Regions from separate parts of the Homo sapiens genome. Here all the other regions are linked to region 2. The links are contacts of gene promoters, found by promoter capture Hi-C in blood cells and fetal thymus (Javierre and others, 2016). All regions are on one chromosome and are shown on one strand. The core of a region is centred on a gene start or on the middle of the fragment in contact, and the rest is flanking DNA. Distances in the headings are between cores, read along the strand shown. Region 1 has its middle 29 kb from the start of HNRNPA0. Region 2 holds the start of WNT8A (Wnt family member 8A). Region 3 has its middle 45 kb from the start of HNRNPA0. Region 4 overlaps KLHL3 (kelch like family member 3). Region 5 has its middle 6.2 kb from the start of HNRNPA0. Region 6 overlaps KLHL3 (kelch like family member 3). Region 7 overlaps KLHL3 (kelch like family member 3).

Region 1 (2,920 bases), core at 359-2,858, 300 kb before region 2:
TTAATTTCCTTTCAAATTAAATAATTAAATTCCTTTTCTACTTGCAAATAAGCCAATTCTTTTTTGAGCTCATCTCTTTATTGCTGTAAATTACCAAATGAAGCCAATAGTAACTAATTCACCCTACAAGCATTCAGTTTTTCCCAAAAATCTTCCCAAAAGGAAAACTATAGGCCCAGACTCTACCAGCAAGTTCTATGAACATTCAAGGGAGAAATGAGACCAATAATACAAACCCTTTCAGAAAACAGAAAAAGGGAGTATTTTCTCTAACTCGTTCGATGATGCTATCATAACTCTGATATCAAAATCCACTAAGGAGGCCCGGTGTGGTGGCTCACACCAGTAATCCCAGCACTTTGGGAGTCACTTGGGGCCAGGGTTCGAGATCAGCCTGGCCAACATGGCGAGACCCTGTCTCTACTAAAAATACAAAAATTAGCCAGGCATGGTAAGGCACACCTGTAATCCCAGCTACTCACGAGGCTGAGGCAGGAGAATAACTTGAATTCAGAAGGCAGAGGTTGCAGTAAGCCGAGATCACACCACTGCACTCCAGCCTGGGTGACAGAGCAAGACTCCATCTCAAAAAAAAAAAAAAAAAACTCCACTAAGGACAGTAAGAAAAAGGGAACTTACAGGTAAGCTGACTAAAAATCATAAATGCAAATTTCCTAAACAAAATATTAGCACACAGAAAATAGCAATATAGAAAAAGGATAAAAAGGGATAATATTTAAAAAGGATAAAACATGGGTTTGTCTAAATAATACAAAGTTGATTTAGGAGAAGAAAATCAATTAATACTGTTACCTACAATAACAGAATAGAAGAAGAAACATGAACAACCTAATAATGATTGAAAGTGTATTTGATAAAAACAAATATTCAATATTTTTTAAAGACTCTTAATGAACTGGGAAAAAAAAGATAATTTTCTTAGTCTGAAACACTATAAATAAATATTCATGCACAATGCCTGACAACAGGAACTATCACAAAAGACTCTGAAAAAACCACAACCTTGCACAAAGGCCATCAAAATCTTATACAAACAAAAATACTTCTGTGAGGACATTAAGTGTAATATTTACTACAAGTACAGTGAGATGTTTAAAGCTTTGCCTTTAAATAATGCCTGTTAACACCACTTTTATTTAACAGTGTACTAGAGGGCCTAGCCAGCCTAGTAAGGCAAGTATATGAAAAAAAAACAAAACAAGAATAGGAATTGGAAAGAGAAACAAAACTATCATTATTTGTAGATGATAGGATCACGAATGTGAAAAATTTAAGAGTATCTAAGGATAAATTACTAAATTACTGAGACATTTTAGCAAGATGACACAAATTTGCAAAATCAGTTGTATTTCTACACATTAGAATCAAAAAATAAAAAAACTCAAAAATACCAACTATGCTAGCATAACATACATGAAGTACCCAAGAACTGTGAAAGTTGTCAGAATCAAATGAAGTCACATGTGTTAAAGCCTCTGTCAAGAGCCAGGGAAGCCCATGAAAAGAGGGTTCTCACGCACAGTGCCTGATAACAAGAACTATTACAAAAGACCCTGAAAAAAACCACAACTTTGCACAAAGGCCATCACAAACTTATACACAAAAAAATACTTTTGTGAGGACATCTGCCCAGCAACTGCCTGTGCAACCTTTGACTAGTACCACTCTTGTTATTGATCCTTGTAGCCAAGAACAATTGTCTCAGGCAGCTCAGCAAGGCCACTGTGGCCCGACTGCCAGATTTCTCCTCTCTGAGCAGGGCATCTCTGAAAAAAAGGCAGCATCCCAAGTCAGGGACTTATAGATAAAACCAGCGTCTCCCTGGGACAGAGCACCTGGGGGAAGAGGTGGCTGTGGGCGCAGCCTCAGCAAACTTAAACATCCCTGCCTGATGGCTCTGAAGAGAGCAGCAGACCTCCCAGCACAGCGTTCGAGCTCTGCTAAGGGTCAGACTGCCTCCTCAAGTGGGTCCCTGACACCCGTGTATCCTGACTGGGAGATACCTCCCAGTAGGAGCTGACAGACACCTCATACAGGAGAGCTCTGGCTGGCAACTGGCAGGTGCCCCTCTGGGACGAAGCTTCCAGAGGAAAGAACAGGCAGCAATCTTTGCTGTTCTGCAGCCTCTGCTGGTGATAGCCAGGCAAACAAGGTCTGGAGTGGACTTCCAGCAAACTCTAGCAGAACTGCAACAGAGGGGCCTGACTGTTAGAAGAAAAATTAACAAACGGAAAGGAAGAGCACGTCCACTCAGAGACCCCATCCAAAGGTCACCAACATCAAAGACCAAAGTTAGATAAATCCACAAAGATGGGGAAAAAACAGCACAAAAAGGCTGAAAATTCCAAAAACCAGAACAACTCTTTTCCTCCAAAGGATCACAACTCCTCACCAGCAAGGGAAGAAAACTGGACAGAGAAAAGAGTTCGACGAATTCACAGAAGTAGGCTTCAGAAAGTGGGTAATAACAAACTCCTCTGAGCTAAAGGAGCATGTTCTAACCCAGTGCAAGGAAGCTAAGAACCTTGAAAAAAGGTTAGAGGAATTGCTAACTAGAATAAACAGCTTAGAGAAGAACATAAATTACCTGACGTAGCTGAAAAACACAGCCCGAGAACTTCGTGAAGCCTACACAAGTATCAACAGCCCAATCAATCAAGGAAGAAAGGATATCGGAGATTAAAGATCAACTTAATGAAATAAAGTGAGAAGACAAGATTAGAGAAAAAAGAATAAAAAGGAACAAACAAAGCCTCCAAGAAACATGGGACTACGTGAAAAGACCAAATCTACATTTGATTGGTGTACCTGAAAGTGACAGGGAGAATGGAACCAAGTTGGAAAACACTCTGCAGGATATTATCCAGGAGAATTTCCCCAACCTAGCAAGATAGGCCAG
Region 2 (2,827 bases), core at 167-2,666:
CGCCTGTAATCCCAGCACTTTGGGAGGCCGAGGCAGGTGGATCACGAGATTAAGAGATCGAGACCATCCCGGCCAACATGGTGAAACCCGTCTCTACTAAAAATACAAAAATTAGCTGGGCATGGTGGCGCACACCTGTAATCCCAGCTACTCCGGAGGCTGAGGCAGGAGAATTGCTCGATCCCAGGAAGTGGAGGTTGCAGTGAGCCGAGATCATGCCACTGCACTCCAGCCTGGCGACAGAGTGAGACTCCATCTCAAAATAAATAAATAAATAAATAAATAAATAAATAAATAAATAAATAAAATAAAATAAAAGACAGATTCCCACCTAAGGAGCTGAAGTCCTAGTAACAAAGTAGTATCAGAAAGAAAGGCATCAGGGCCACGCCCAGTGGCTCATGCCTATAATCCCAGCATTTTGGGAGGCCAAGGTGGGCAGATCACTTGAGCCCAGGAGTTCAAGACCAGGCTGGCCAACTGGCGAAACCCCTTCTCTACTAAAAATACAAAATTTAGCTGGGTGTGGTGGCTGGCACCTGTAGTCTCAGATACTTGGGAGGCTGAGGTAGGAGAATCACTTGAACCCAGGAGGCAGAGGTTGTAGTGAGCTGAGATTGCACCACTGCACTCCAGCCTGGGCGACAGAGCGAGAGACTCTGTCTCAAAAAAAAAAAAAAAAGAGAAAGGCATCAGTCTTCCCAAATATAACCCTGGGTGGCCCTAAGGTTGGTTCTCAGATATATAAAAAATCAACTAACTGGAGTTGTAACCCTCAGATATAAAAGGATAGATTTGCTAGGAATTAAGGAAATTTCCCAGCAGTTGCTAGAATGTGGTGGAAGGGACTGTTGCAGAGATGGACTCTGAAGTGTTCCTGCTCCATAGTCCCACAGCTCCATCACCTCACAGCCTTGAAGGAAGTGGTAGGGATGGCGCACTCACTGGTTTAGGTAAATGAGTAGGAAGCAGCCCCAGATGGAGTTGCTTTATGATTATTAACACCTTGGGGAGGATGGCAGGACAGAGAGTGGGCTCTCACTGACAGATGAGGACACTGTAGCTCCAAGAATAGGTGACCTGCCTTCAGGGTTAAGGACCCAGCCTGCTCTGGCCTACATGATTCTGAGAAATGGGCCAAAGAAGCAGGAAGAGACAAAATTGACATATAGAAGAAAGAAATCTCACGTATAGGAGAAAAGCAGCCTCCTTCTCATTCTGGGAGGGAAGAAGGGCTGGAGGGGCTGGGCAGGGCGGGGCTTTTGGCGAAAACTGAGTCCCTCCTCCCAGATCCCCCACTGGGCCGGTGGCTCCTGCAGCCCTGCCAGTTAGGAACAAATGAGAAGAGCTGCTGATTTCCTCCCTTGGACATTCAGAATTTTCTCACATAAATACTGAGGAAGACCCTGCCCTCTCCTCACTTCTCTGGACTTGGCCCTGAGCTGGACCTGGTCCACTGGGGTAGGCAGGGCGATGGGGAACCTGTTTATGCTCTGGGCAGCTCTGGGCATATGCTGTGCTGCATTCAGTGCCTCTGCCTGGTAAGTCCTTTCCCAACCCTCACTCCTTGCCAAGGAGGCCCCCATTGTCTCATCCCCATTCACCTCTGCCTCACTTTTTCTCTTTTTGGTAGGTCAGTGAACAATTTCCTGATAACAGGTCCCAAGGTAGGATGATCTCCAGCTTCTGTTTTTACCCACTGAGGGCCCTAAGGGGACTCTTCTGGAGAAAAGAGGGGCGGGGACAGTGCCAGAGCCCCTCACCCAGAGGAACCCATGGTTGATTCTTAATGGAGAGCTGGCCCATCTGAGTCCTGCCTGCTCCCCCAACCACAGATGACCCATACCGGGCAGAAGCTCACAGCCCTTTTCCCTTTGCCAGGCCTATCTGACCTACACGACTAGTGTGGCCTTGGGTGCCCAGAGTGGCATCGAGGAGTGCAAGTTCCAGTTTGCTTGGGAACGCTGGAACTGCCCTGAAAATGCTCTTCAGCTCTCCACCCACAACAGGCTGAGAAGTGGTAAGTTTGTGTGGGACTCACCTGTACAAGGGGTATATATGTGAATGGAGTGGGGCTTGCAGTATGTGTATATGTGTGACATGTATTGCACAGTGAAATAAAAATGCTGCCAGTGACCTGCTGACCTGCCATTTCCTTGCTGTGTGGCCTTGAGTAAATTACCTACCCTCTCTCAGCCCCAGATTTGTCATTTGGGTCAGTAAGGCCAGTTCTGTTTAGTTCATCAGAAGTATCCTATGGGTTGAATGAGGTGGGTATGAGGTGTCTCTATGTATGAGATAAATGTAGGAAATTACTCTTTTTTTTTTTTCTTTTTTTGAGACGGAGTCTCACTCTGTTGCCCAGGCTGGAGTGCAATGGCGCAATCTCGGCTTACCGCAACTTCCGCCTCCGGAGTTCAAGTGATTCTCCTGCCTCAGCCTCCCGAGTAGCTGGGATTACAGGCATGCAACATGCCTGGCTAATTTTTTGTATTTTTAGTAGAGATGGGGTTTCACCATGTTGGCCAGGCTGGTCTCAAACTCCTGACCTCAGGTGATCCACCCACCTCAGCCTCCAAAAGTGCTGGGATTACAGGCGTAAGCCACCGTGCCCAGCGGAAATTACTCTATTTTTTAAATGCATGCCTATATTTGTGCGTTTGTACACACTGATCTTGCACTGAGTTGCATGAAATAAAAATGGGGAAAGGGCTGTGTGTTTGCAGCTCCTGAGGAAGTTTCACATGGCTAACTGCCATAAAATCTCAACAGAAAAGCTGAGACGTCACATTGAGTTGTGCCTCAGGTGGGGTGTGTGTCTATGTGT
Region 3 (3,102 bases), core at 255-2,754, 280 kb before region 2:
CTCCTCAGCCTCCCAAAGTGCTGGGATTACAGGTGTGAGCCACCTATTTTCTGTATTTTCTTATATTGTCTACTAATATTTTTTTGAGTCTGTTTTCTCAAATTCTTTCACCTGGGATTTATTCTAGTGTATAGTACGAAACTAAATTAATATTTTTTCTAAGCAGCTAGTTAACTATTCCAGCAACAGTTACTTAATAATTCTTTCCTTCCCTAGAAATCCTTACTGCTGGCTGGGAACGGTGGCTCACGCCTGTAATCCCAGCATTTTGGGAGGCAGAAGTGGGCAGATCACTTGAGGCCAGGAGTTCGAGACCAGCCTGGGCAGCATGGAAAAACCCCATCTCTACAAAAAATACAAAAATTAGCTGGGTGTGGTGGCACATATCTGTAGTCCCAGCTACTCAGGAGGCTGAGGCAGGAGAACTGCTTGAACCCAGGAGGCAGAGGTTGCAGTGAGCTGAGATCACACCACTGCACTCCAGCCTCAGTGACAGAGTGAGACCCCATCTCAAAAAAAAAAAAAAAGCAATCCTTACTGCTTTCACTGTCATATATTAACACGTTATATATACCAGGGTCTATTTCTGTCTATTCCATTCCTTGATCTGTCTGCTAATTCTTGGCCCAGCATTACGTTGATTTAATTATTCACACTTTATAATATTTTAAAATATTTGGTGTTGTTAATCATGCTTTTCATTTTAATTATTCCATTTTTCAAAGCTATTTTCACTTACAAATACTTTATAAGTAATTTTTTATAACCTCTCTTGGGATTTTCATTGAAATTGAATTATATCTACAATTTAACTTGGGAAGAAACAAAATCTTTATAATATTCGGTCTTTCCATCCAAACATTCCTTTTTCCCATTTAATCTTTCTTGAAGGCATTAATGTATTTCCTGGTGATTCTGGAGAAAACAGAAGTATTAATCAGTAGGCTTCCCTTTATATATATACCTTAATTCCTAAGCACACCCAACCTTGATGACAAAGAAGTGTCTTTGAAAAGGAAAAAAAATAAATGGACATTGTGTGTTAGCTCCTCATCGTTTGTTTACATCAGATTATAATAGCTCTCTATGTGTACCTAGGTGAGCAAAAATGTTAACAACAGTGGACCCCTCACCTCAGAACACAGATTTACACCAAACATCCCCTTAAAAGTTTTTTTAAAAATGACTCTGGTTTTGTCATTTCTCAATTTCCCACACTCATTACAGACTTCCTTTAGAATAATAAACAATAAACTCTGTTATTAACTCAAATTTTATGTTTCTACTAAGCGAAATTCTAAACAACAGCAACAGTAATAACTACTATCTATTGAATATCTACTATGTTCTATCATTAATCTTCAAAATAATCCTGCAGGATAGGTGGCTATATTCACCTTATAGGAAAGGAATCAAAAGCTTAGAGAGCAGAGGAGCAAATCCTTCCCTGCTCCGCGTTCAGCCACCCCAGCGATGCTTTATGCTTGTTTTTATTATTTGTAACACTTTGGGAAGTTATTAAAGGAAGATCTATTGCTTCCTCCTTTTGGGGTAGAACTGGATGGCAAAAAATAAAATAAAATAAAAATAAAAGCTTAGAGAGAAGCTCAAGATCACCCAGCTAGGTAATGCTGGAGAATCCAAATTCAGACCTAGCTCTCTCCCACTCAAGCTGACTCTCAAAATCATCATGATCACAGATAACTAAAATGATCTCTTAATATCCACCAAACCTGTGGCACCACTAGCTTTTGCCAATACTCTATATATGGAAAAGGTACTTTCCAATAGCCCTACAATCTTCCAAAGTTTGCTACTCTCTGTATTTTAAATACAAACAGGTAAATAAGTAATGGGACATTGCTAAAAGTTGACTGGGGAAAGAAATACAAGCCACTGAACTGCTTTGATAGTATCTGCTCTTCAGGTTCTTACAGAGGAGGAGATTGGCTTCACGTCCATAGTACACATCCCACTCCTACTCTACCTGCAAGTCCCCCCAGCCAGTGACCCAGCAGGATTCTATAAAACACAGACACACAATGTCAATGTTGTTGACTGCCTGGAAATTTTGAGTTTCTTTAGGGTAGTTTGATGTATTTGGGTAGGGAAACAGGATTGAATCACACAGCCTGGCCCTAAAATGTAGGGTTCTATCACTGAGTCCTTGGCTTAGGAAATGTAGTATTTGAAAATGTTGTGTGCTCATCCACTAGACCATGCCACAAATATTTTCAACCATACTCAATCTTCTACAACCTTGTTTTCTAAAGTCTTCAAACACTCACTATAAGGAAATATTTCTTATATTTAATATAAATCTTACTTTTTGAGTCTTTTATAAATGAGAAGTAGGCCCCTTCTTGTAATAATTTTTCAAATACAGGAAAAGCGCTTTTTAGTCCCCACTTTCATCTATAGTCTATAAGCAGCTCAGCTGTTGTCAGCTCCAAAGTAGTTGATAAAAATCTTATATTTATAATACATACTTGCTCAGAAACTTGGCATTAATTTCAATTTCAAAAGTATCTTCATTAATCTTATAAATTACTGCAAAATCTGGAATAGCACCATCTCTTTTTTTAAACTTTTAAGTTCAGGGGTGCAAGTGCAGGTTTGTTACATAGGTAAACTGGTGTCATGGGCGTTTTTTGTACAGATTATTTCATCACCCAGATATTAAGCCTAGTACCCATTAGTTATTTTTCCTGATCCTGTCCCTCCTCCTACCCACTACCCTCTGAAAGGCCCCAGTGTGTGCTGCTGCCCTCTATGTGTCCATCTCTTAACTAACAGTAAATGCTCTAAGAACAACCATTAATGTTTACTAATAATTTTCCAGGAATATTTAAGTTAAATGTCTGATTTTGGCCGTGCTAATTTAAAAAAAAAATATATATATATATATATACATATATATATGCCAGAAAATGCCACAGATTTTCAAGAGGCACTCTTATTATCATCTCTACAAGATGACTGAAAGTGACATTTTGAAAATATCTTTTAAACAGCTCCACCTCATGTCACTGCTGCTGAGATTTCTGACTCCTCCCTTCCGGCTCTTCAGTGACCTTCAGTGCCCACTGGATTCCAAAGCTC
Region 4 (2,817 bases), core at 114-2,613, 440 kb before region 2:
CTAGCAGTCCTATTTCCACAAGTAAGGTAGTAGCTACCACTGCTAGGTACCATGTGAAATGTGTTGTCATTTACTTGTCACCACAACTGTGAGGTAGATATCATCATCCACATTGACAGATAGCAAAGTAAAGCTCAGAGAACACATGTAAGTGGCCCAAGGTCACACAGCTAAGAGTGTAGGCAGAGACTGAAACCCAAGTCTACCTGACAGAGGGTGAGGCCAGCCACCCCCCCCAACTCCTGCTCTAGAGACAGGATCCAAGCAAACACAGCTTGCTGCATCTATGTTTGTCAAAACACAGGTCGCTTTCCATTAGTAGGTCATGAAATCAATTTAATGGATTATGACCAGCACATATATTTTTAAAAGCACAGAAAATATGATAAGAATATTATTTCATGAAATATTGGTTTTGGCTATACACACTTACATGTGTCTTCTGGATAGCAATTTAAATGCATTTTGTATTGCAAGGGCATGGTCAAACACAATGAAAACTACTGCTCTGGTTAGGTTAATAGAACTGCAGTACTTAATTATGGTATCACTGCTGTGTCTTTGGTCACATGTTATTAATAAATAAAAAATTAAAGTACCAGTTACCTATAGTTTACATATTTTAATAAACATGTACAAATTCATAGCTGTCCCCACAATGATGTCACTCTCACTCAACGGCATTCCAATATGCTTTCTTGAGTGGAGAGAAAGGGTGGAAGTCACAACCAGCAAATTCATTTGATCATTACCTGTAGCTTGTCTTATTTACCCAGTGGTTCTCAAACTTGAGCATACATCAGAATCACCTAGAGGACTTGTGAAAACACAAGCTGCTGGGCCCTATCCCCAGAGTGTGATTCAGTGGATCTGGAGTGGAGCCCAGAGGCTGCCTTTCTAACAAGTTCCCAGGTGCTGCTGCTGCTGCCACTCTAGGGTTCATACTTTGAGAACCACCTTTTTAATCCATGCTCTGTATGGATTTCCTGATGATATGCCATGAACAACTTTTGCCATTATGAATTATCATAGTGCTTTTTACTTCCCCATGATGTATTTTTGGGGAGAGAAGTGCCCATCAAAATCTGTGTGAACTCGCAAAGGCACATCCCTCAAGTGAACACTTCCCACCATACGGGAGGCAAAACCAGAGCTCACCACCATTACTACAGATCAACCATTTATTCCCCAATATTCCAGAACAGGCTCACCCACTGCCATGTGGGTGGTCACTGGTCATCAGACTTAGTCCATAGCTGTCTGTCACCAAAAGTGGGTAACCAGTGTTCAAAAATTCAGAAATCAGTTCTGACTTCTAAAGCATTCCAAAGGAACCCAGGACACAAAACCCAGCCTCGAGCTGCTGCTGCTGCTGCTTCCAGACAGAAACTTGACTTTCCTGGGTGCCTCAGCTCAGAGGGTCCACTGCTCTGTGTCAAGAGTAGCCTTTTTCAGAGTAAACATGAATTCTACATTACTTCCCATTTGTAATTCTTTGCTTAGACAGGCATCCATGAACAGTTCAAGGGGGATGTTAATGAACACAGCCCCTTGGCAAACACCAGATAATGCCTAACCTACTCTTCAAGGGCAGAATGACATGTTCGTAAATATGCCCAGAACTTGCATTGTCTTTCCGGTTTTGAGTTGGTAAAGCTAAACTGAAGGAAAATACTGCAAGGATTTTCTTTGAAATCTGATTTCTGAAGCTGAGTGAGAATAAAAGCAGTTTTAAGTTTTCTTTCTGCAAGGACTTCAGGCACCCCACACCCTCCCACATGCTGTTCCCTGACTCGAAACCTTCCCATCTCTGAGCACTCTGCCTTAACACCTGCTTATCTTTCAGGTCTCAGTTTAAATGTTATTTCCTACAAATGGACTTCCCTGGCCTCCAGGTCAGAACTACATATCCGTCCTCTGAGATTTCACCTGCCCTGTGTGTTCTGCATTGTGCTGGACCATCAGTGTCTTGTCTTTTGCACCTCTAGACAGTGAGCCCTGCCCAGGCAGAAAACGTATCTGCCTCAGTCACCAAGATAACTCCATATACTTATGTTGCCAGGTAAAAGTGAGGGCTCAAGTGTTTATTTGGAATAAAGAATACATGAATAAAAAGTAAATAGCACATGCAAGGAGTTAAACAAACAATACAGAGTTTTTAAAAATGAAAAAAGAAACTAAACTAGAACGTCATTTTCTTTAGTTAAAATATGTTGGAACACCAGGTTAAAATTCTGGAGACAGTGAGGAAAAAGCAAGCAAAATAAAAAGAGAAAGTGAGAGCTTTTCCCATCTTTTGACTCAACCACCAAAAGAAAGTTTGCTTATACTTGGCATAAGCTATCCAGCTTCTTTTGTAAATTAAAAAAAAAAAAAGGCAAAGTTTTCAGGAACCCTCACCATGCCCCAGAAACTATCTCCCACCAGGGAAGTAGAGGGTACATGCATATTGGAGAAAATCTACCACTCATCTCTGAGAATTTTCACAGAAACAGTATTACAGAAATGCAAATTTTTTAATGTTAAAGTAAAGCCTGAGTAGAAATACAAAAATGATACACGACAGCTAGGTGCAGTGGCTCATGCCTGTAATCCCAGTACTTTAGGTGGCAGAGGCGGGTGGATCTCTTGAGTCCAGGAGCTCAAGACCAGCCTGGGCAACATGGTGAAACCCCGTCTCTACAAAAAATACAAAAAACTAGCTGGGTGTGGTGGTGAATGCCTGTAGTCCCAGCTACTTGGAAGGCTGAGGTGGCAGAATCACCTGAGCCCAGGAATTTGAGGCTGCAGTGAGTTGTGATTGCAGCACCACTGCAC
Region 5 (2,810 bases), core at 153-2,652, 320 kb before region 2:
CAGCCTCTCCTAAAAGTTCATGATAAATGTCCTTAGCAGCAGGCAGGAACAATTCTTCACCAACGGTAAAGGGCTTCTTAGCTTTAGCAATGCAGTTAGCCACTAAGAATGATGCTCTCAGTGCAGATACATTTGATGAAGTGGTGGCCTTCAATAATTGCTTCTGGTTTTTTGTTTGCTTGTTTTTGAGACAGGGTCTTTCTCTTTCACCCAGGCTGGAGTGCAGTGGTGCAATCTTGGCTCACTGCAACCTCTGCCTCCTGGGTTCAAGTGATTCTCATGCCTCAGCCTCCCGAGTAGCTGGGACTACAGGTGCGTACCACCACACCCAGCTAATTTTTGTATTTTCAGTAGAGACGGAGTTTCACCATATTGACCAGGCTGGTCTCAAACTCTTGGCCTCAAGCAATCCACCCACCTCAGCCTCCCAAAGTGCTGGGATTACAGGTGTGAGCCACCATGCCTGGCCAGTTGCTTCTGTTCTTTGTGTTCATTTGAAAAACTCAAAAGCCTTGTGTTTTAATGCAAGGTGCTAGGTTTCCATGTGGAGAAGCAGTTTTGAAGGTTTCATGGCTTTGTTGGATAGCCGGTTGCCACATGTTATACAAAGTGGGCTTGTAGAATGTTAATCACTTGTTGCAATGAGCCTGTAATTTAAGTAGGACTCTTGGTATTTTCTTTTAAATGCAGCTTTGTTTTTGATGGAAGTCTTAATGTCTTCTGATGTCTCATCATTCAGTCTGTCCCCCTTGACAAAGAAGCTCTCCAGTGACATTTGTTTTTTACTCATTTTGGCTAGGGTTAGCTTGTGGGCTTACCAAAACTATGACTGAGACAAGTGCATAGCATGGGAAAGAGGCACGGATGGAAGTGGTAAATAAAATAATGGGCAGGCCATGCTCAGACTAAAGTTAAGTGTCAGATTCTGACAGCCTGCCACCAGATGTAGCTGTACAATTGAAGTACATCAATTCACTTGCCACTATAAAGCCTACTGCCAGCCACGGCTTAATTGTCACTTGCCACTCACTGATAGGGTTTTGATATGAGTCTGCGACTTATTATGGTCTCTGTGCAGTCAGACCTCCCTGCTAATGTTAATCTGTATTTGCAGCCACTCCCCCACATTAGCATTACCACCTCAGCTCCACCTCAGATCATCAGGCATTAGATTCTCATAAGAAGTGCACAACCTAGATACCTCACATGTTCAGTTCACAATAGGGTTCATGCCCTATGAGAATCTAATCCCGCTGCTGCTGTGACAGTAGACGGAGCTCAGGTGGTAATGTGAGCCATGGGGAGCAGCTGTAAATACAAATGAAGCTTCACTCGCTCACCCACCGCTCACCTCCTGCTGTGCAGCCCAGTTCCTAACAGGCCATAGACTGATACCAGTCCATGGCCCAGGAGGTGGGAACCCCTGATCTATGCCACCTAAATGGGGATCCATTAGGGTTTTCATTTCTATTGGCTAATAAAGCTTCACAGAGGTAAATGTCAGGTCTAGACACCTTACATACAGTAGGGTATAGGGATGATCAGAGACAATACAAGAATGTTGTAGAGACATTAAGAAAGCCAGGATATATGCAGTATGACTGGAATGTTAAGTTTTTTTGTGTTTGTTTGTTTTTTTGAGACAAGAGTCTGACGCCCAGGCTGGAATGCAGTGGTGCAATCTCAGCTCAGTGCAATCTCCGCCTCCAGGGTTCAAGCGATTCTCCTGCCTCAGCCTCCTGAGTAGCTGGAATTACAGGCATGTGCCACCACTCTCAGCTAATTTTTGTATATTTATTAGAGACAGAGTTTCACCGTGTTGACCAGGCTGGTCTTGAACTCCTGACCTCAGGTGATCCATCTGCCTCTGGCTCCCAAAGTACTGGGATTACAGGCATGAGTCACCACACCAGGCCAGAATGTTAGATTCTTTTTGGAGATTAGATCAGTAAAGGTAGGGACAGTCAATAAAAGGAGTATTATGTAAACACTTAAATGATGCAGTCAATTTCCTACTCTACGTCATTAAGGAGGAAAAACTATTTTTTTCTACTTTGCCTTTTAGATCACTGCCTGAGTTTACTTTGTTTCTTTAACTCGCTTACAGGTGTCTAAGCCTTCCAAAATAAAACACTTAAAAATAAAACTGAAATTTAGACTGCCTTTGGCTTCCATCCCTCCTGCAAGCTTGATTACAAAAAGCTAATGGAATGTGATGGTTACACAAGTCATAGAACCACACACTAAAAAGAGTGTGTTTTAATATTAAATTATACGTAGACAGAGAAAGAATGAACTGAGAAAGAAAGGAAAGACTATGGCCAGCTATATTTCCAGAAAGCAGCAACTGTGATTTTTTAAAATTAGCTTTTTATTGGATCCATGTTTGTTTTACAGTTAGGATTCTGCTATGGACTAAATTGTGCACCCCTGGTCCCCACGCTCAAATTCATATATTCAAGCCATAACTCCCAGTACCTCCAAATGTAACCATAATTGAAGATAAGGTTTCGAAAGAGGTGATTACATTAAAATGATGTCATTAGGGTGGGGCCCTACTTCAATATGTCTGGTGTCATAAGAAAGACAACAGGAGCACAAGTGCATAAAGGGACGACCATCTGCAAGCCAAGGAGGAGAGGCCTCAGAAGAACCCCAGACTGCCAGCACTTCATCTTTGACCTCCAGCCTCCAGAACTAGGAGAAAATAAATTTCTATTGTTTAAGCCACTCATTCTGTAATATTTTGTTATGGCAGCACTAGCAAACTAGTACAGGTTCCATTTTTATTTATTCAAGGTGAACATTTC
Region 6 (3,018 bases), core at 519-3,018, 420 kb before region 2:
AAAGAGAGAGAGAAAAAGTTATGAGTCATCCACAAAGGTGTTTAATTAATCTGAGACTCATATTTAAAATAAAAACAGAAAGGGTTTGTTTACTTGCTGGCCTCAGAGAGTGATCACACACACACTCTACACACACACACACACACACACACACACACACACACACACACACAAGGACAAACCTGCTATCCCAAATGTAGAATCATCATGGTTCATTCTAAAATAAAAACCAGTTCCAATAGTTTTTTAAGGGTAAAAATACAGAGCAGTAACTGTGAACCAAATTTATAGAGGCTGCTCAGGAAGATCAGACCCTGGGGGCAATGTCGTCATCTCCCCATGCCCCCGTTTCCTCACTTATGTCCCGTGTAAAGTTAATGTAGAATAAAAACAGTAAGAATGCCCTCTGCCCAAAGCTGGCTGTGATGGTCAATGTGACACTGAATGACAAGGAATGGCAAACATTTCTCCTTGAGGAGAGATTTCATTTCTATGCAAATCAAAACTGGAGGGCTTAGAACCAAAAAGGCAGACCTATACTTTGGATGTTCACTCTACTCAAGGATAAGTCCAAATTCAAACCCTGTGCCACCACATACACATAGGCAGATAAAATTCAACGTTGGAGGGGCAATGGGGAAACCAGCAGTGTCTGTAAAAATTTCATTAATAATGATTTTTAAGAGGGGAGGGAAGTATTGGCAATATCGATCAAAATTTTAAATGTGCATTCTCGTTGACTTTAAAAATACCACTTCTAGAGCTCTAGCTTATACTCACATCAGTGTAAGAGAACAGAATATGTGCTCCAATATCTTTGCTGCAGCATGGTTGTAAAGGGATAAAAAAATGAAACAACCTAAAGTCCACTAATAGAGAAATTATTAAAGGAGTATCCATACCATTAGATACAGTTATCCCTCAGTATCCTTGAGCACTCGTTCTTTTTTTTTTTTTTTTTTTTTTTTTGGTTCTTACTCTGTCGCATAGGCTGGAGTGCAGTGGCACGATCTTGGCTCACTGCAACCTCCACCTCCCGGGTTAAGTGATTCTCCCGTCTCAGCCTCCCTAGTAGCTGGGATTACAGGTGTACACCACTACACCCGGCTAATTTTTGTATTTTTAGTAGAGACGGGGTTTCACCATATTGGCCAGGCTGGTCTCAAACTCCTGACCTCAAGTGATCCGCCTGCCTTAGCCTCCCAAAGTGCTGGGATTACAAGCGTGAGCCACCAGCCCCAGCCCCAGGGCACTGGTTCTATGACCACCCACAGATACCAACATCTGCCAATGCTCAAGTCCCTTATATAAAATGGCATAGTATTTGCACATAACCTCCGCACATCCTCCCATATACTTTAAATCATCCTCCCATATACTTTAAATACTTTAAATATATATATTTAAAGTATGTTAATAATAAATATACTTTAAATAATTATATAAGATTGCTTATAATACCTAATATAATACCCATACATCACTTCATGCAAGTGGATATGATGTAGTACTTGGTGTTGCAGCAAATTCAAATTTTGCTTTTCGCAACTTTATGGAATTTTTTTCTTCTGAATATTTCCTTAGTTGAATCCCTGGATATGGAACTCACGGATACAGAGTGCCAACTCTATTTTCGCTATTAAAAAGAATAAAGCAAACATCTTATACGTGATTAAAGAAGACATGTCAAAAAGAGCCAGCTGGATGGGGCTTTCAATGCCAATATTTGGGACAATTTAAATATCAGTGAGAATAATGAAGAAATCACATCAGTGCTGCCTCTTTGAGGGGAAGGAGGGTCAGGGAATGGCTGAAAAAGGTTCAAAGGAAACCTTTTGTGGTTTAGGGTGGGCATTACATGGGCATATACATGTGTCAAAACTAACCAAATTGTGTATTTAATATCCATATACCTCAATATAAAATATTCTTAATTTTTTTTTAAAAATTATAATATGGCCAGGTATGGTGGCTCACACCTATAATCCCAACATTTTGGGAGGCCAAGGCAGGCAGATTGCTTGAGCCCAGGAGTTCAAGACCAGCCTGGGCAACATGGCAAAACCCTATCTCTACAAGATACAAAAATCAGCCAGGCATGGTGGTGCATGCCTATAGTCCCAGCTACTAGTGAGGTTGAGGTGGGAGAACTGCTTGAGCCTGGGAGGTCGAGCCTACAGTGTGCCATGAGTGTACCACTGTACTCCAATCTGGGAGACGAAGTGAGACCCTGTCTCAAAAAAAAAAATTAAAAAAAATAATTCATGCGCCCATATGGATACTAAAAAAGTGTAAGAAGGTCTCTTATATCCAAAAAAAAATGCCTGTAAAAGGAATGACGGAATTAGAAAAACACCATTTCTGCAATACCACCAATGTAATAACTGATTGAACAAAGATCACCAATGGATGCTAAAATCGAAAGTTGTTAAAGGCCAGGTGCAGTGGCTTACACTGGTAATCCCAGCCCTTTGGGAGGCCAAGGTGGGAGCCCAGGAGTTTGAGACCAGCCTGAGAAACTTAGCAAGACCCCATCTCTACTACAAAAAAAAAAAATCAGTCAGGCATGGTGGCACGTGTCTGTAGTCCCAGCTGCTTGAGAGGCTGAGGCAGGAGGATCACTTGGTCCCAGGAGGTGGAAGCTGCAGTGAGCTGTAACCATGCCACTGCACTCCAGCCCGGGCAACACAGCAAGAGCCTATCTTTAAAAAAATAATAATAATAAAGTTGTTGGATGGGGAAAGAGTCACAATTCTCAAAGAATCACCCAACAGATTACATACTATTTACATGGAGGGAAAATATCCTCAAATAGAGAGATCTGATAGACAACACCTTAAACAAGGGACCAAATTTACCACCACCCATAAGAGGACAAACTTATATTCCTGATTGTGATTTAATTGAAAAGACACAGTATCTCCTAAGTACAATTCTTCCTAAAATATTAATATATAACCTGAATCTTACGGTGAGGAAACGATCAGACAACTCTATGTTTGCAACATTCTATAGGAC
Region 7 (3,051 bases), core at 19-2,518, 460 kb before region 2:
CATGGCCTTGGCAGCACGCCCAGTAGAGGCAGTGCTTTGTAGGGAGGGAGACATGAGGTGAAACCAATTGCAAAAATCCAAAAACAGAAAACATGACTGGCTAGCTTTCAGTGGAGGGACCCTTCCCCGGAAGACGACACATAAAAGTAGCCTCTCCCGCATGAAAGTCTAGCTTCTCAGTGGTGGGGGAGGGGCAGGGAATTCACCTATCATCTGAAATTGAGAGCTTCTGTGAATGGCATACATCAGATCCCAACCCCAGCCTCATCCCCATCACACAGACACACCGAAACAAGTCTCAAAATTTCCTCAGAGAAGGAGAAAGGACATTTCTCATTCCATCAGCTTCCAACCCACAGCCAGGTAGAGTTATGAAGCCACAGTCATCCCCACTTCATAGTGAGACCAGAGCACTCAACTAAAACATGCCTTGCTTCCTTTGGAGACATTTCTTCCAGGTCCCCCAAAGCTGGATATTTTAGCCTCTTCTGAAGGCTTCTAAAAATTCTGGGTACCTTGTTGTTCTCCAAGCATCTTGTTGAAGTAACATGTGCTTAACATCAGAAAGAGAAGTTTTGTCTTTAGGAGAGTTGCACATTTAGGGCACAATAAATATACAGTAAATACACAAAGTGGCTCACTGGCTGGGAAGACTTCGGGGTTTCTAACTGCAGGGGCTGGGGGATGCCAATCTCCTGCAGCACCTGCTTGGAAGTAGCCCAGTCGTATCAGAAGTCCAACATCAGGATTTATAAAGTTCCTTGGCTTCCTGTAGGTGGATTCTCAAAGTAGGGAGGGTGTCCCAGACTGCAAGGTATGAGACTATTCTCCAGACACAAGACTTCCCCTGCTTATGCCAGAAATTTCAGCATGAGCAATTTGCTAGTTTAGGAACAGCACAACTTTAAGGTTTTTTAAATACAAATTACTCCATGCCCCCTCAAATGCCCGCTCCTCAAGATGCTTGAAGTTCTATTGTTAATAATTTTTACCTGTGAATTAGCAAAGCTCTCACCAAGCTCCCTTTTTAAAATGCAAGCACATCTTAGGAAGCCTCAAATCCAAGGCCCACTGATATCTCCTACCTCACAGGGAAAGCAGTAGTGGGGTTCTTGGGGGTTGGGGAGAGGGTGCACACCCTGGAATAGGGGGAAAGCACAAGAAAAAGAAGACAAGGACATTAGACAGACTTGACCACTGTCACAAAGTGCCAAGGGCCAGCTCTAGTGGTATATTCCTTTGAAGCCATCCAATGTCCATCTGAATCACACACGACCCCATCCAACACAGGCACAAATCTATCTTTGGGTCTGGAGGAGGGTGACCTCTTATTTATCCTCCAGACCAGAACACTTCTGAGTAAAATGGGGTGCTGTGAATAATTAAACTGGGATAATAAGTATAAATGGGGACTGTCCTGTCCTGGGAAAACCTAAAAGTAGGACCCTCTCTGAGACCATTATAGGCAGGAACTGAATCCTTACCACTTTGGTTTTTTGTTTTTTTCCTGTTTTTGTTTTGTTTTGTTTTGTTTTTCAGTGTTACCCGAGGCTTCTCTGAAGAGCTAGTTTTCCCAGCTGAAGAGACATAACACCTCCCAGGCCTGGAATCTATGACATCAAAGACCAATGGCCTAAACCTGAAGACTGGGCAGTTCTCATCTGCTTCCTGTAGGAGAACTCAAGGAAAAACAGTGAGCTGAGAAGCACAGGGAACCCATTTGTCCCTTATTCTAGCACACAGAGGACACGGTGCAGCTTCGAGAATTTTCCAGCTCTTCTGCAGACAAAGTCACAGTAGTTAAAGTACATAAGTGGGTGTGGCCAGAGAACTGCCCCTCTCACTGGTTATTTCTGGACATTCCCAGACTGTCCAACTGGACCTTCAGAAGAAAGCAGCTTTAGTAGTCTCAGGGTCCCCATGGGACAAATCCAGAAGAGAGGTCTCTGTGACTTGATTTTTAACACAGCGAAAGGATCAGTAGTAAAGAAATCCAGTAGACTGTCACACACGCTCACCCCCCAACTTAGAGAAACATAGAGAAACACCATGGTCTACACACACACACACACACACACACACTCCAGGGTCTGTATTGTCCCTGTAGAAACACCAAAACAAAGCCCAAAGGTGCTGCCTGGGGATGTCAAGACCCCCCTTGCTCAGGGCATAGGCCAGAGCACCTCAGGGGAACGGGGGTGGGTAATGGTGTCCACACTGCGATGAACAACACCAGTCTGCCAAGTCAGAGGAGAGCGGTTCTCACAGCAGCACAGACCCTCCCAAGCAAGTTGAATCCAGTCACCAAGGTCCTGCTGTTCAGAGTCACAGGCAGCACCTGCTCCTTCCTCCACCTCCTGGCAGTAGGAGTTTGGGTCACAAGGACTTGTGAATCACGGCAACACCTAATAAGAAAGGGGGAGAAAGTTATCATCTTAGCTTCTCCAAAATTACTCAGAGTCCCAGTGAGTTCATGAATCCAAGATATCCTGAGTCACAGCCAAGGGAAATGTGTGCAATTTTTATCCTAATATTGAAGTGGACTCAGGCTGCTAGCAGCTGGCTGTTCCCCACTCCAACAGCCAAGTCCTGGCAAGACACTTGAACCTACGAGCACAGTCCCTCAAACACCACTGACTAGTGGCCTCACCCTGTGTCATCACATGGACTCACTGTGGTGACTCCCATCCCCAGCCCTAGCACCCAGCCCAACAATGCTCAGCGCCCAGGGGCAGCTATGCAGTTCTAAATTTGAATCACTGTAAGAGAAGCAATGGGTGATTCATCTCTACTTTTAGAAGACACTGGAATGAAGCGGAAAGTACAGCAGGCTGCCTTCATGGGAGCAAGAAAGACTGAATTCCATTCCTAGCTCTGCCACCAGTCAACCTGCACTATGGCCTTTGGCAAGTTCTTTGACCTCTTTAGGCTCAGTTCCCACACAAATGTCATCTAAGAGACCCTGCCAGTGTGACAATCTCGACTTTGATAAATGCTCCAGACATGTATGCTATGTTACTGTTTTAGTCCGAGTGAACCATGCTCAGCACC

What was found. Contacts are between HindIII fragments. The CHiCAGO score rates a contact against its expected background, and 5 or more counts as called.
Region 1: a fragment that was not itself captured here is called in contact with the fragment with the promoter of WNT8A in region 2 in 1 of 17 cell types (total B cells); the score reaches 7.4 in total B cells.
Region 3: a fragment that was not itself captured here is called in contact with the fragment with the promoter of WNT8A in region 2 in 1 of 17 cell types (total B cells); the score reaches 5.2 in total B cells.
Region 4: a contact is called between a fragment that was not itself captured here and the fragment with the promoter of WNT8A in region 2, in 4 of 17 cell types (naive CD4 T cells, naive CD8 T cells, total CD4 T cells and 1 more). The highest score is 7.8, in naive CD4 T cells.
Region 5: a fragment that was not itself captured here is called in contact with the fragment with the promoter of WNT8A in region 2 in 2 of 17 cell types (total B cells and naive B cells); the score reaches 10.1 in total B cells.
Region 6: a fragment that was not itself captured here is called in contact with the fragment with the promoter of WNT8A in region 2 in 1 of 17 cell types (naive B cells); the score reaches 5.7 in naive B cells.
Region 7: a fragment that was not itself captured here is called in contact with the fragment with the promoter of WNT8A in region 2 in 6 of 17 cell types (total CD4 T cells, activated CD4 T cells, total CD8 T cells and 3 more); the score reaches 8.6 in total CD4 T cells.

The regions. Positions count from the first base shown.
Region 1 is chr5:137,781,643-137,784,562 of GRCh38, forward strand. No RefSeq gene overlaps it. Among named protein-coding and RNA genes, the nearest start is that of HNRNPA0, 29 kb to the left of the region's middle. The HindIII fragment of the contact is 982 bases long and covers 1,118-2,099 here.
Region 2 is chr5:138,082,617-138,085,443 of GRCh38, forward strand. WNT8A (Wnt family member 8A) reads left to right here and starts at 1,417. Exons shown (of 5, transcript NM_001300939.2): 1 at 1,417-1,667; 2 at 1,882-2,020. The coding sequence starts at 1,512. The HindIII fragment of the contact is 12,012 bases long and covers 1-2,827 here.
Region 3 is chr5:137,798,125-137,801,226 of GRCh38, forward strand. It overlaps the pseudogene NPY6R. Among named protein-coding and RNA genes, the nearest start is that of HNRNPA0, 45 kb to the left of the region's middle. The HindIII fragment of the contact is 175 bases long and covers 1,418-1,592 here.
Region 4 is chr5:137,640,505-137,643,321 of GRCh38, forward strand. All of the region lies in intron 8 of KLHL3 (kelch like family member 3), which reads right to left. Among named protein-coding and RNA genes, the nearest start is that of MIR874, 5.7 kb to the right of the region's middle. The HindIII fragment of the contact is 6,724 bases long and covers 1-2,817 here.
Region 5 is chr5:137,759,207-137,762,016 of GRCh38, forward strand. No RefSeq gene overlaps it. Among named protein-coding and RNA genes, the nearest start is that of HNRNPA0, 6.2 kb to the left of the region's middle. The HindIII fragment of the contact is 157 bases long and covers 1,325-1,481 here.
Region 6 is chr5:137,662,113-137,665,130 of GRCh38, forward strand. All of the region lies in intron 6 of KLHL3 (kelch like family member 3), which reads right to left. Among named protein-coding and RNA genes, the nearest start is that of MIR874, 16 kb to the left of the region's middle. The HindIII fragment of the contact is 3,612 bases long and covers 1-3,018 here.
Region 7 is chr5:137,619,722-137,622,772 of GRCh38, forward strand. It overlaps KLHL3 (kelch like family member 3), which reads right to left. Exons shown (of 15, transcript NM_017415.3): 15 at 1-2,405. The coding sequence ends at 2,377. Among named protein-coding and RNA genes, the nearest start is that of MIR874, 26 kb to the right of the region's middle. The HindIII fragment of the contact is 4,842 bases long and covers 1-3,051 here.